Regions from separate parts of the Homo sapiens genome. Here region 2 is linked to region 1. The links are contacts of gene promoters, found by promoter capture Hi-C in human tissues and cell types (Jung and others, 2019). All regions are on one chromosome and are shown on one strand. Each heading gives the region's core, a stretch centred on a gene start or on the middle of the fragment in contact. The rest is flanking DNA. Distances are from core to core; before and after follow the strand shown. Region 1 overlaps ZNF512 (zinc finger protein 512). Region 2 holds the start of SUPT7L (SPT7 like, STAGA complex subunit gamma).

What was found. The method cuts DNA at HindIII sites, captures the fragments that hold promoters and counts their contacts. A contact is called where the count stands out against the background at its distance.
Region 2: a contact is called between the fragment with the promoter of SUPT7L here and a fragment that was not itself captured in region 1, in 2 of the 25 tissues and cell types used here (hippocampus and spleen).

What each region holds. Positions count from the first base shown.
Region 1 is chr2:27,617,942-27,624,167 of GRCh38, forward strand. ZNF512 (zinc finger protein 512) reads left to right here. Exons shown (of 14, transcript NM_032434.4): 14 at 3,212-5,276. The coding sequence ends at 3,520. Among named protein-coding and RNA genes, the nearest start is that of CCDC121, 8.0 kb to the right of the region's middle. The HindIII fragment of the contact is 6,428 bases long and covers 18-6,226 here.
Region 2 is chr2:27,661,906-27,668,131 of GRCh38, forward strand. SUPT7L (SPT7 like, STAGA complex subunit gamma) reads right to left here and starts at 1,709. Exons shown (of 6, transcript NM_014860.3): 1 at 1,424-1,709; 2 at 274-376. The coding sequence starts at 287. It overlaps SLC4A1AP (solute carrier family 4 member 1 adaptor protein), which reads left to right and starts at 1,984. Exons shown (of 14, transcript NM_018158.3): 1 at 1,984-2,672; 2 at 3,195-3,390; 3 at 5,363-5,485. The coding sequence starts at 2,010. The HindIII fragment of the contact is 8,665 bases long and covers 1-3,634 here.

The DNA of each region.
Region 1 (6,226 bases), core at 1,982-4,481:
CTTGAACTCTTTTTTTTTTTTTTTTTAGACGGAGTCTCGCTCTGTTGCCCAATCTGGAGGGCTCACTGCAACCTCCACCTCTCGGGTTCAAGCAATACTCCCTGAGTAGCTGAGATTACAGGCACCTGCCACCATGCCTGGCTAATTTTTGTATTTTCAGTAGAGATGGGGTTTTGCCACGTTGGCCAGGCTGGTCTTGAACTCCTGACTTCAGGTGATTCACTCGCCTTGGCCTCCCAAAGTGCTAGGATTACAGGTGTGAGCCACCATGCCCGGCCTGAACTCTTCTAATTCCTTTAAATCCAATTAAGTCAAATGTTTGGGAACCAGATTGAGTTTACATGTTTGAAATTCTTATTTCACAGTGATCTCTATACATTCATGCCTTCTAGCATTCTAATGTCTTCCAGCAACCCATTTTTAACGCTGTTTAAAATACTGGATAAAACAACTAAAGGACATTATTGAGACAGTTGGGGAAATTTGAATGCTGACTGTATTAAATAATAGTATTGTGTCAGTGTTAACATTCCCAAAGGTGATAGTTGTAGTCATGCAGGAGAATGCCCTTGTTCTTAGGCAGATATATGCCAAAGTGTTTAGGGATGAAGTATTATGATGTCTGCAACTAATTTGCACATAGTTCAGCAAAAGAAAGAAGGAGGGAAGAAGGAAGAGAGGAAGGAAAGAAATTAACAGTGGTAAATTTGATTGTTCATTGAACTGTTGCAACTTTTCTGAAGGTTTGTAATTTTTCAAAATAAAATTTTAAAATTGTGTATAAAAATGCTTTAAAGTTCAGAAGGTCAAGGGTTTTCTCTTGGGGAAGGTTTTTTAGTAATACAGGTGAACAGAGAAATCGTTTATGATATAATTAAATAGTCCTACTACAACAGCTTAGGAATACAATTTGCATTCTCTTGGAATATCTCACTGCAGAAACTATTGCTGCCTGATGTGGAAAAATAAAGGGAACACCTTTATTTATTTTCTGCCCTCAAATTTGATAGTACTTAACAATGTGAGCTTTAATTACTTCCATAAAATTTGGTTTCTGTTGCTTTACTGGCATAAGCTTTCAGAATCCCTAACCAAAGCCTGAGATGTCTTCTGAAGGCAGTCATATCTTTTTAGTAATAATAGCATATCTTTTTTTGCTTTAGGAAGTATTTAAAAGGTAATTATCGGCTGGGCACGGTGGCTCACGCCTGTAATCCCAGCACTTTGGGAGGCCGAGGCGGGCAGATCACCTGAGGTCAGGAGTTCAAGACCAGCCTGGCCATCATGGTGAAACCCCATCTCTACTAAAAAGTTAGCTGGGTGTGGTGGCGGGCACCTGTAATCCCAGCTACTTGGGAGGCTGAGGCAGGAGATTTGCTTGAACCCAGGAGACGGAGGTTGCAGTGAGCCGAGATTGCGCCACTGCACTCCAGCCTGGGCAACAGAGCAAGACTCTGTTAAAAAAAAAAGGTAATTATCTCCTGACAAAATCTGGCCTTTATATAGTTAAATGGTTTGTCTATTTTCTTCCTAAAAAGTTAAAATCAAAAGAATTGGAACCAACAAATTTCACTTGGTTTGGGGCATGCTCCCAGGCATTTGTTTATTGATTTATGCCTCTATGAATTTTGTGGGTGGTAAAACATCTTTACCCTGTTTCTTCCTCCCTCCATCACATTTTCTTACACTACTTTTTTTTTTTTAACAGAAAATTTCAAACACATGAAAGTAGAGAAAATAGCATAATGAACCCAGTATGCTGTCAGCCATCCTCAGCAATCATCAGTGTATGGCCAATCTTGTGTCATTTATAACCTCACTTTTCTCCTCCCTTAAAGGCTTACTTTAAAGCAAATTCCACATAAAATTTCAGCTGTAAGTGCTTCTTTCAATATATATCTGTAAGAGATAAGGACTTTTGAAAACATATGACCACAAACATCATTATACCTAAAAAAGTTAAGAATTTTAATATTATCATATGTCTAGTTATTATTTAAATTTCCCTGATTATCTTATAATGTTTTTTCAGAGTTGATTTTTCAAATTAGGATCTAAAACAAGGTCTAAATATTGCATTTGTTTGTTTTAATCTAGAGCAGCACTATCCAAAAAAAGTACTGTGAGCCATGTATATAATTTAAAATTTTCTAGTAGCCACATTAAAAAAGTATTTTAAAAGATGAAATTAATGTTAATAATTATTAAGCCCAATATATCTAAAATTATTTTTAACATTAAATCAATAAATTATTGAGATATTTTACATTTTTTTCATAACAAGTCTTTGAGATTTGTTGTATATTTTACATGAAAGCATATCTTAATTTGTTCTACTCACATTTAAACACATCACTTACCATATGTGGCTAGTGGCTATCTCATTGCATGGTGCAAGACTAAAAGCTTCCTCTTCTTTTTTACAAATTTGCCATTTATTGAAGAAACCGGATCACTTGTCACATACATGTACCCACATTCTGGAATTTTGCTGATTGCACCCTATGATAGTATTCCTGTATTCTGGCCATTTCCTTTTTTGCTTTTTGTTGTTGTTGTTTGTTTTTGAGGTACAGGGACCACTGCAGTGGAGTCTTGCAGTGGGGCAGAGAGATTGGGCTCAACTCCCTATTCTGGCTTTTCCTATGAATTGGTAGATTTAGAAGATTGAACAGATCACTTGATAAGATTGAAGTTCTTTCTTTTTTGGCAAAAATACTTCATAATTGGATTTCATGTCCCCTACCCCTTAATTTTTTAAAGTGAGCCTCGAAAATGTTAAGTAATTCGCCCATGGTCACGTATCTAGAAACAGAGCTGGGATTTGCACCCAGGGGGTCTGGCTGCAAAATTTATGCTCTTAGTTACGATGCCGTCATGGAATAAAAATCTCCTATGGCTCAGTGTGTTACATCTCATGATGAGATTTATACTCAGGAGATATAAGAGTGGGATGATGCTAAGTAAACAGACTTTGTAGATCATTTATTAAAGTCCCTAGAATTACGCCTTACAAAATATGTGCTTGTAATAGCTGCTCTGTGTTGGATTTCTCCATCTTAAAATATAGAATCCTGAGGTATGGTTCCATATCTGTTTCCTTCTTACTGTGTTCTGCCCTAATCATGCCTTTTTTCCATTCTTCCTCCACCTTTCTTTATGTTCTTCACTATATTTTCGACTGGATGACATTTCTATTTTGCCTCTCTAGGACTGGTTCGTTGTAAACCCAACAACAACCAAAAGCTTTGAAAAGCTGATGAAGATAAAGCAGCGGCAGCAAGAAGAAGAAAAGCGGAGGCAGCAGCACAGGAGCAGAAGGTCTCTAAGAAGGCGGCAGCAGCCTGGCATTGAGCTTCCCGAGACAGAGCTGAGTCTTAGAGTAGGGAAGGATCAGAGGAGGAATAATGAGGAACTGGTAGTGTCAGCCTCCTGTAAGGAACCAGAGCAGGAGCCAGTGCCAGCACAGTTCCAGAAAGTAAAGCCCCCAAAGACTAATCATAAACGAGGAAGGAAATAGGCAGTCAGTGTAAAAGTGCTCCTAGGAAAGCAGATGTGATGCTGTTGTCACGGGGACCTGTGCTGGGAGGACTGAGTGAAGATTCTTTCAGCTGTTTGTGTAAGGCTGTGACTTTCTCAGCTCCTTCCTCCTGTGTAAATTTCACTGTCTTCCCTTCTTACATTTTGATTCCCCCCTCCCCTTTTAGTAGGTTTTCCTGCTATTCCTCGTCAAGTCCTCTTGTTTTTTTATCTTGCCCAAAGAGCTCCCTCTCAAGGCCAACTATAGGCTCCTCTTGCCCTGTACAAAACTAAGAAACCTCTTTGGTTGTCCTTTCCTTCCTGGGGTATAGAATGTTCTTGGAAGCTCCATTGATTTAGTAGCTGCTCCATCATCTAGCTTGTGAAACCATTCCAAACTAATTTTTTAAAACCATAACTGATTTGTCATTTTGTATTTGTGATATAACAAGTCTAGAAGTTAGAACTGTTGTCATTCACATAATAAGATTACTCTGTCTCCTTGGGAAAAAAACTTTATGGAGGCTGTTTGTCCTCTCAATATGGTTTTAAGATTGAAAGTAAGAAAACGGATTTAGGATGAAAACTCTAGAACTACCCTATGCTGTTTATACTGGGAAATGCTTTGTACCAAGTAGCAGTGACTAGACCCACAGACATGAAAAGCAACCTTAGGAGTAAAGTGACCCAAACATTAAAATGACAGGAAAGAGAAAGTAGAAGCAGCAATAAATACTGCCCCAACTTTCCTGGAGCCCGAGGCCTCATCCATAGCTATGATCACTTGCCCTCTGAAGCTTATTTTTGCTTCTTTGGTTTTAAGAATTGAGAAATATCACATTGCCCCTGATGTTTTGACAGTCTCCTAGTGCTCCTGGTAGTGCCACTAAGGGAAAACCAAGGTGCGCATTCCTTCTCCCTGGACTTTACCTTACTTGTTAGTCTACGCCCCACTGTTTCCACCCATCCCCTTAGCCAACCTCTGTCTTTTTGAATTTTCTGAGAATATTGTCCTATCCTCTTTTATATATGGAGTTCTCTCCTCTTTATATCCTGAGACTTTGACACCAGATGTAGATATTTATCTGGAGCTGGAAAGAAAAATTCTTTTTCTGTACCTCATGCCTATCTGGTAATGTTTAATGGGTTATTTCTCTTTGAGGGTGGCTTTCTCTGGAACATTGGTTAGAGCAGCTTTGTTGTCGTGTTTCTGGATTCTCTTCCCCATTTTGCGTAAATATTGGTCTTATATATTCTTGCCTATTTTGTGGCATATGCCACATAAAAAATGAACCTGATATAGACAAGTACTACCTTTTCAAATTCTGAAAGGCTATTACCACTTTAACTCTTTGTGCTCCTCCAAATAGCTTTAAAATGTGGGCTTTTGTGAAGACCACTTTCAAACAAGGGAGCACTGAAACCTGAATTGGATACTGCCAGAATAGGTAGTTTTGAAACAAGTTAAGGACATGGTATATGCACTCTGCATTTTCATTGGCAGTGTGCCCTTAAAGCCCTTTCAGTAGATGAGGGTTGTCAGGGAGGAGAAATGAAGAAGCTATGTTAATTTCTGGTGAGTAAGACCTGGGGAATGTTTGGCAATGACAAAAGAAATAAATGACTCTCAGAAAGATGTTTCCAGTGTTCTTTGACGCCGACCTGCTGCATGACTCCTTGACACTGTATGGGGGTAAGAAGATGGCTAGAGATGGGGGTGAGTTTGAAATAAATTCCACATGCAGTTGTCTCAGTAATTCTTTGGTTCATGAATTATGCTGGTTAAAATGAGTAGTTTGAGATTAAAGTGAATTAGTATAGGAAACTTGCCCAGTTTCATCCAGGGACCTCTTGCAGGCATTCCTTTCGTTTTTCCTGACCAAGACCAGGGATCAGCAGGACTCAGTATAGACTATTCTAATCACAGTATTGAGTTTTAAAGTTTTTTTAAAAAAAATTCATTAGACTAACAAACTAAGTTTGACAGTATTATGAACTTTCATACATGGTTTGGAATGCAAATTGGTACAATCACTTCAAAAGTGATTTGGCAGTATCTAGCAGAGTTGAAGATATGTACCCGAAGACTTAGCAGTTTCTCTCCTGGGTATACACAGAGTAACTCCTTTTGTCTAGGCGTACCAAGAGACACAAAAAAGAATGATTATTGCAGTACAGTTTACAGTAGAGAAATACTGAAAACAAGTATCAGAGATCTACTTTCACCTTTGCAAATTATGGGATTATAGAACAAATGGCTAGACTGTATATTTCCTAGTTATCCCCCTTCCCTCCACTCTCTCTAGTGAAGGAGAAGCCAGCTAACTCCTCTCCCATGGAATGTGAGTGGAGTGATGAATGCCACTTGCAGGTTAGAACTTTTGAGTGGGTGTACCTCCAAGCTTTCTTTACCCTTCTTCTGGCTAAATGCAGATGATGATGGGGCCCTAGGAGATGGAAGAACACAAAATGGAAGATATCTTGACCCCCTGAATCACCTGTTGAAGGAGAGCCACTTGCCAACCAGGAACATGTATCTGAGACTATTAAGTGAGCAAGAAATAAATGTCTGTTATTTGAGACATTATACATTCTTGGGTCTCTTTGTTAGCCTACTCTAATACACAATAATTATCCATTATCAGAATGGATAAATTGTGATATAGTCATACAGTAGAATACTATACAAGCTATAAAATTGAGTAGG
Region 2 (6,226 bases), core at 459-2,958, 42 kb after region 1:
CTTAGGCATGATCCTGGTGGAAAAATTTATGAACCATTAATCTAAATGGCATTATGCTTTCAACTTTTGACATATAGAACGTGAGAGATTTCTGCTGCCTTCTAACTGGTATCCCTTCCTCCAATCTCTCTTTGTATGTCATCTATTCTCTACACTGCTGCTAGACTTACTCTTTTTAAAACTTAAATCAAATGGCTTCCCATTGCCTATTGGAAAAAGTCAGAATTCCTTGGCTTACCATTCAACAAAATTCACAATCTGGTTTCAACTCACCTTTGCAGATTCATTGTCCATATGTCTCTTCAAGTTCAACAAACATTTATCAAATGCCAGGCATTCTGTGTCGGTCAAAGACTGATAATGTGAGATCCTTGCCCTGAAGTGAGGAAGAGAAACAGAAGCAGAATATTTCAATATGAAACATGGTAAGTACTGTTCTAGAGGTATATGGACCTGGGGTACTGGAAGCACAAAGGAGGAGCTTCCTGGGTGAAATGACTACCTTTGTTCTAACAACATTATACTACTCAGTTTCTTGAGAATGCTGTACATTTCCACAATTGACACTTTCAGCTGTGAACTCTGCCAGAAATGCTCTGCCAACCTTGCACATCCCTGGCAGACTCATATTCATTTTTAAGTACAGCATAAGTCCCCACCGTCCGTCACTTCACCAGTGCATCTCCCTTTCTCTATTCTCACAGTGCTTTGCAAGTCTATGTCACAGCAGTTATCCTTGGATTTTAATTAGTACTTATCGCAATAGATTTTTTCTGCCCGTCTATTTCTTATGGCTGTGGTCTTGTTACAGGGCCAGGCACACAGAAATATCTGGCATTTGTTGAATGTTTACTATATGCCAGACTTCACCTTTTTTGTTTGTTTCTTTTTTGAGACAGGGTTTCACTCTGTAGCCCAGGCTGGAGTGCAGTGGTGCAGTCATGGTTCACTGCAGCCTCAACCTCCTGGGACCAAGCAATCCTCCCACCTCAGCCTCTGGAGTAGCTGGGACTACAGGCGCGCACCATCAAACCTGGATTTTTTCTTTTTTTTTTTTTTTTTTGGCGAGACAGGGTCTCGCCATGTTGCCCAGCCTCCTCTGGAACTCCTGGGCTCAAGCAATCCTCCCGCCTCAGCCTCCCAAAATGTTGGGATTACAGGCATGAGCCACCGGTCTGGCTGGCCTTTATTGTTTGATTCAATTCTTCCAACAACCCTATGAGGCTAATAATCTTATCCCCATTTTTCAGAGTGAGGGCTGAGGCCTAGTGTCTTGCCCAATGTCACAAATGGCGAGGTCAAAAATCGACAGTCTCCAGAGTCTGCTCTCTTAACCACTTAACTATTCTGCCTTAATAATTTCAGAAAAAAAATAAATGAATGAACGAAATAACAAAAAAGTCGCCCTCTTCCCTTACTTTACCGAAAGGAGCACGAAGAACAGGCACGGAGCCCAAGGAATGCCCAAGTCCCTCCAGGGGTTTCCTCGGTCACGGTCCGCCGGCGCAGGCGCCAATCACAGGGTCCTGAGGTCGCCTGACGTTCAGGGCAGCCGGAAGACGGGGAGGTCTGGACCTGAACCGAGACAAGGAGGTACCACACTATTCACTGCTGCGTCGCAGAGCGGGCTGGGCGGCTGTCTGGACCTCGAGAGGCCTGAGGCAAGGATCGCGTCAGACCCCGAAAGCTGGTTTGTTGATTAGTGATCTAAGACCGCCGGAAGCGCTTCTTCTCAATCAAGCTATGCAACAGGAAGTCATTACGATCCCGTTGTAACCTCTAAATATGTCCCCGTTCTGCACAGCATCCCGATAACCGTTTTGTTTTTCTCATATTATGACCTTCTCATGTTAGCACCACTTCGCAACGCTCCAGGTCGTGAAGGAGCAACTTCACCATCGCCGCCTACAGACGCCACTGGGAGCTTGGGAGAGTGGGACGTGGACAGGAACGTAAAGACCGAAGGGTGGGTTTCGAAGGAGCGGATTTCGAAGTTGCACCGGTTGAGGATGGCTGACATTCTCTCTCAGTCAGAGACCCTGGCGTCGCAAGACCTCAGTGGGGACTTCAAGAAGCCAGCTCTGCCGGTGTCCCCAGCGGCGCGGAGTAAGGCCCCGGCCAGCAGTTCTTCAAACCCTGAGGAGGTACAGAAGGAAGGGCCCACTGCGTTGCAGGACTCCAATTCTGGGGAGCCCGACATCCCTCCTCCTCAGCCGGACTGCGGTGATTTTAGGAGTCTACAGGAGGAGCAGTCGCGCCCCCCGACAGCGGTTTCTTCCCCTGGCGGTCCAGCCCGGGCTCCCCCCTACCAAGAGCCTCCATGGGGTGGCCCTGCCACAGCCCCCTACAGCTTAGAGACCCTGAAGGGCGGCACTATCCTTGGCACCCGTAGCTTGAAAGGGACGAGTTACTGCCTTTTCGGGAGGCTGTCTGGCTGCGACGTGTGCCTGGAGCACCCTTCGGTGTCTCGGTACCACGCAGTGCTGCAGCACAGGGCGTCCGGCCCTGACGGAGAATGCGACAGCAACGGGCCGGGCTTCTACCTCTACGATCTGGGAAGCACCCATGGCACTTTTCTCAACAAAACTCGCATCCCACCTCGCACCTACTGTCGAGTCCACGTTGGGCATGTTGTTCGCTTTGGAGGCAGCACCCGGCTCTTTATCCTGCAGGTAGGTAGAAAAACCTAGAATTGAAATTTCGGGTTCATTGGACTGCGTTCTTGTGCTTCTTAAGCTTTGGATGAGGAAGAAGAATCTCCCACTCAGCGATTACGAAAGTGAAGGAATCAAGTCTGGCCTATCATCTTCAGACGGCTGTACACATTGCTATATTTCTGAAAGTCATGTTCACAATCCCGAACTCTAAAATAACTTGTTTGGCCAGGCGCGGTGGCTCGCGCCTGTAATCCCAACACTTTGGGAGGCCCAGGCGGGAGGATCGCTTTAGCCCAGGAGTTTGAGAGGAGGCTGGGCAACATGGCAAGACCCTGTCTCTTAAAAAAAAAAAAAAAAATTAGCCAGGCATCATGGTCCCAGCTGCTCAGGAGGCTGAGGTGGGAGGATCACCTGAGCCCAGGAGGTCAAGGCTGCAGTGAGGTGTATTACAGCCACTGCACTCCAGTCCAGCCTAGGCGACAGAGCAAGACCCTGTCTCTAAATAAATAAATAACCTTTTTTTCCTTGGTTCATCAGGGACCAGAGGAAGACCGAGAGGCAGAATCCGAGTTAACAGTAACACAGTTGAAGGAATTGCGCAAGCAGCAGCAAATATTGTTGGAGAAGAAGATGCTAGGAGAAGACTCAGATGAAGAAGAGGAAATGGATACCTCTGAAAGGAAGATAAATGCTGGTAGCCAAGATGATGAGATGGGTTGCACCTGGGGAATGGGTAAGAAATTAAAATTGCTGCCGGAGGTTAATATTTTAAGTTCATTACAAGTGGTACCCTTAAATGTTTTTTTAAATCATACAGCTTTTCATGGCTCCTTGAGATAGATAGGGCAAACACAATTTGCACATGAGGTAACCAAAACCCAGAGAGATTCACTGACTTTACTGTTGTAAAGAAATTGACTTATAGGCACTTTGGATTTTTTAAAAATTTATTTTTAATGCACTCTCTTGTTCAAAACTTGTCCTAAGCATAAAATTATTATTTTTACAATTCTAAAATTTTATATTTATTAAGTACTGACCTTGTGCTATGTGATTATCATTGGAGGGGATGGAACTCTATTCAATCAAATAAATGGGATGTTATTCAATATAGGATATTCTCTTGAATTTTTTGTACTTTGTGAAGATATCCTGAAATGTGGAATATCTAATCAGATAAAGCTGGTCCCTTAGCCAAAATAATAAACTTTCTTTAACACCAGATATTTTAGAAAATGGATATTCAGGAGATGGGAGTATAAAAAGGTAGAAGATGGCATTAATATATAGTTGGGAAGATAGGAAAAATTATGAAATTACTTGTGCTAAGTGCCAAACAAAAGCTAGAAACCATAAGTATGCTAGAGTGAAAGTTTGGAGAAGAGAGAACAGTCACTGGGGACTTAGACCTGTGTTGTCTGATATGGTAGCCACTAGCCACATGTGGTTACTGAGCACTTGCAGTGTGGCTAGTTGCAATTGATGTGTGCTGTAAATGCAAAATACACACTGAATTTCAAAGACTTAGTCTGAAAAAAAGAATGTAAAATATCTCTTTCATGATATTTTTATATTGATGACATGTTGAAATGACAATAATTTTACCTGTTTCCTTTTAATTTTTTAATGTGGCTAATAGAAAATTTAAGATGACGCATACAGCTGTCATTATATTTCTGTTGGACAGCACTGACTTAGATCTTTGGGAAACTTAATTTTTTTTATTTTAGTAGAGATGGGGTTTCACCATATTGGCCAGGCTGGTCTTGAACTCCTGACCTTGTGATCCACCCCCCACCCCCCCCCCCCACCCCGCCCCCCGGCCTCCCAAAGTGTAGAGATTACAGGCGTGAGCGATCGCACTCCACAGGGAAGCTTTATGAGCATAAGGATTTTGAGCTGGAACTTGAAGGAAAGGAAAAGCCTTATGAAGCTGAGTATTGGGATTGGTATTCAGGGTAGGAATTGATGATTTTAAGGAAGTTGTGAGTAGACCAGTCTATTTGGCAGATATAAGAAGTATTAGGAAATTATATTGGGAACGAAAGTTAGATATGAGTGTGAGAGAACAAGAATGCCAGGCTGAGGAGCTCAAATTTTTTTTCCACAATGTGGTAGGTAATTTTACTTTTAAAATATAATGATGGAGAAAAAAAAATTAAGGTGCCATGAAAACAAGTTTTGACTTGTCACACAATTTAGAAAACCTGAATATGCTCATACTAGTGGTTTTGTGGTGGTTGTTCCACCCCCTGTCCCTGCAAGTATTTATTATTTTTCATCACAGATAAACTATATATATATATATATTTTTTTTTTTTTGGGAGACGGTCTCACTGTGTTGCTTGGGTTGGAGTGCAGGTAGCGCGATCTTGGCTCACTACAACTTCTTCCTCCCAGGTTCAAGCAATTCTCCTGCCTCAGCCTCCCAAGTAGCTGGGATTACAGACACCCGCCACTGTGCCCAGCTAATTTTTTTTGTATTTTTAGTAGAGATGGGGTTTCACCATGTTGGCCAAGCTGGTCTTGAACTCCTGACCTTGTGATCCACCTGCCTTGGCCTCCCAAAGTGCTGGGATTACAGGCATGAGCCACTGCGCCCAGCCTAAACTATATCTTTATGCAGCCTGAGAGAATAGTGGGTATCATTCAAATAGTCTCTTCTCATGTCTGATTATCTTTTCTTTCTTTTCCATATCCTGTAGGAGAAGATGCAGTAGAGGATGATGCTGAAGAGAACCCTATTGTCTTAGAGTTTCAGCAGGAAAGGGAGGCCTTTTATATAAAGGATCCCAAAAAGGCTCTCCAAGGCTTTTTTGACCGAGAAGGTATGTAAACAGATTCTGACCCTACCACTAAAACATATCCAGAGCAGTGTGGTTTTCTAGAGCTTCATGTTGAGCTTTATACTAAGATATGCTATAATTTTATTGCTGTCCTTCTTGTTCACTTTTTACTCTTGTGGTCAGTTGCTTTAGGTTTATTTTGAAAATTATTCCTCATTAGTATGGCAGAGGGGAAAAAAATCATAAAAATCTTGTTAGTCTTTCTTCTTATCTTAAAAAAAGGAAGTACTTTTTCCTGACTCATCTCATTCTTCTCAAAAGATCCTGGACTTTGGTGGTGGGGAAATTGAGCCAACTTCCTGTAGTTTTTTAATTCCGAATTCACCTGATCTTTTGTAATTCCTAACATAGGTTTTGATTTTATATTATATGATTTAAAATTTTTTTTCCATAGAGGATTGTTTTGGTAGGAATACTTTGAGAGAATATCTATGTATATGTATGTATATCTGTATATATTTTATATGTATATATAAATAATATATGAAATAGCTGTGCACTTAATATCTGTGCTTCTAAAAACCAGGCAACTGTGTTAAAATAACCACTAAAGTCTACAACTTATAAAAGTGAAACATACTATACAGTGAACAGAGCTATGTATGGAGAATTGGTTACTTTGATCTGAGTTTGTTTTTTTCTCTGCCTCAGACTTACTCTAATTTTATTATCAGACAATAATCCCTAGGAATGAGAAGTGAAATGCATTGAAATTTATTATTC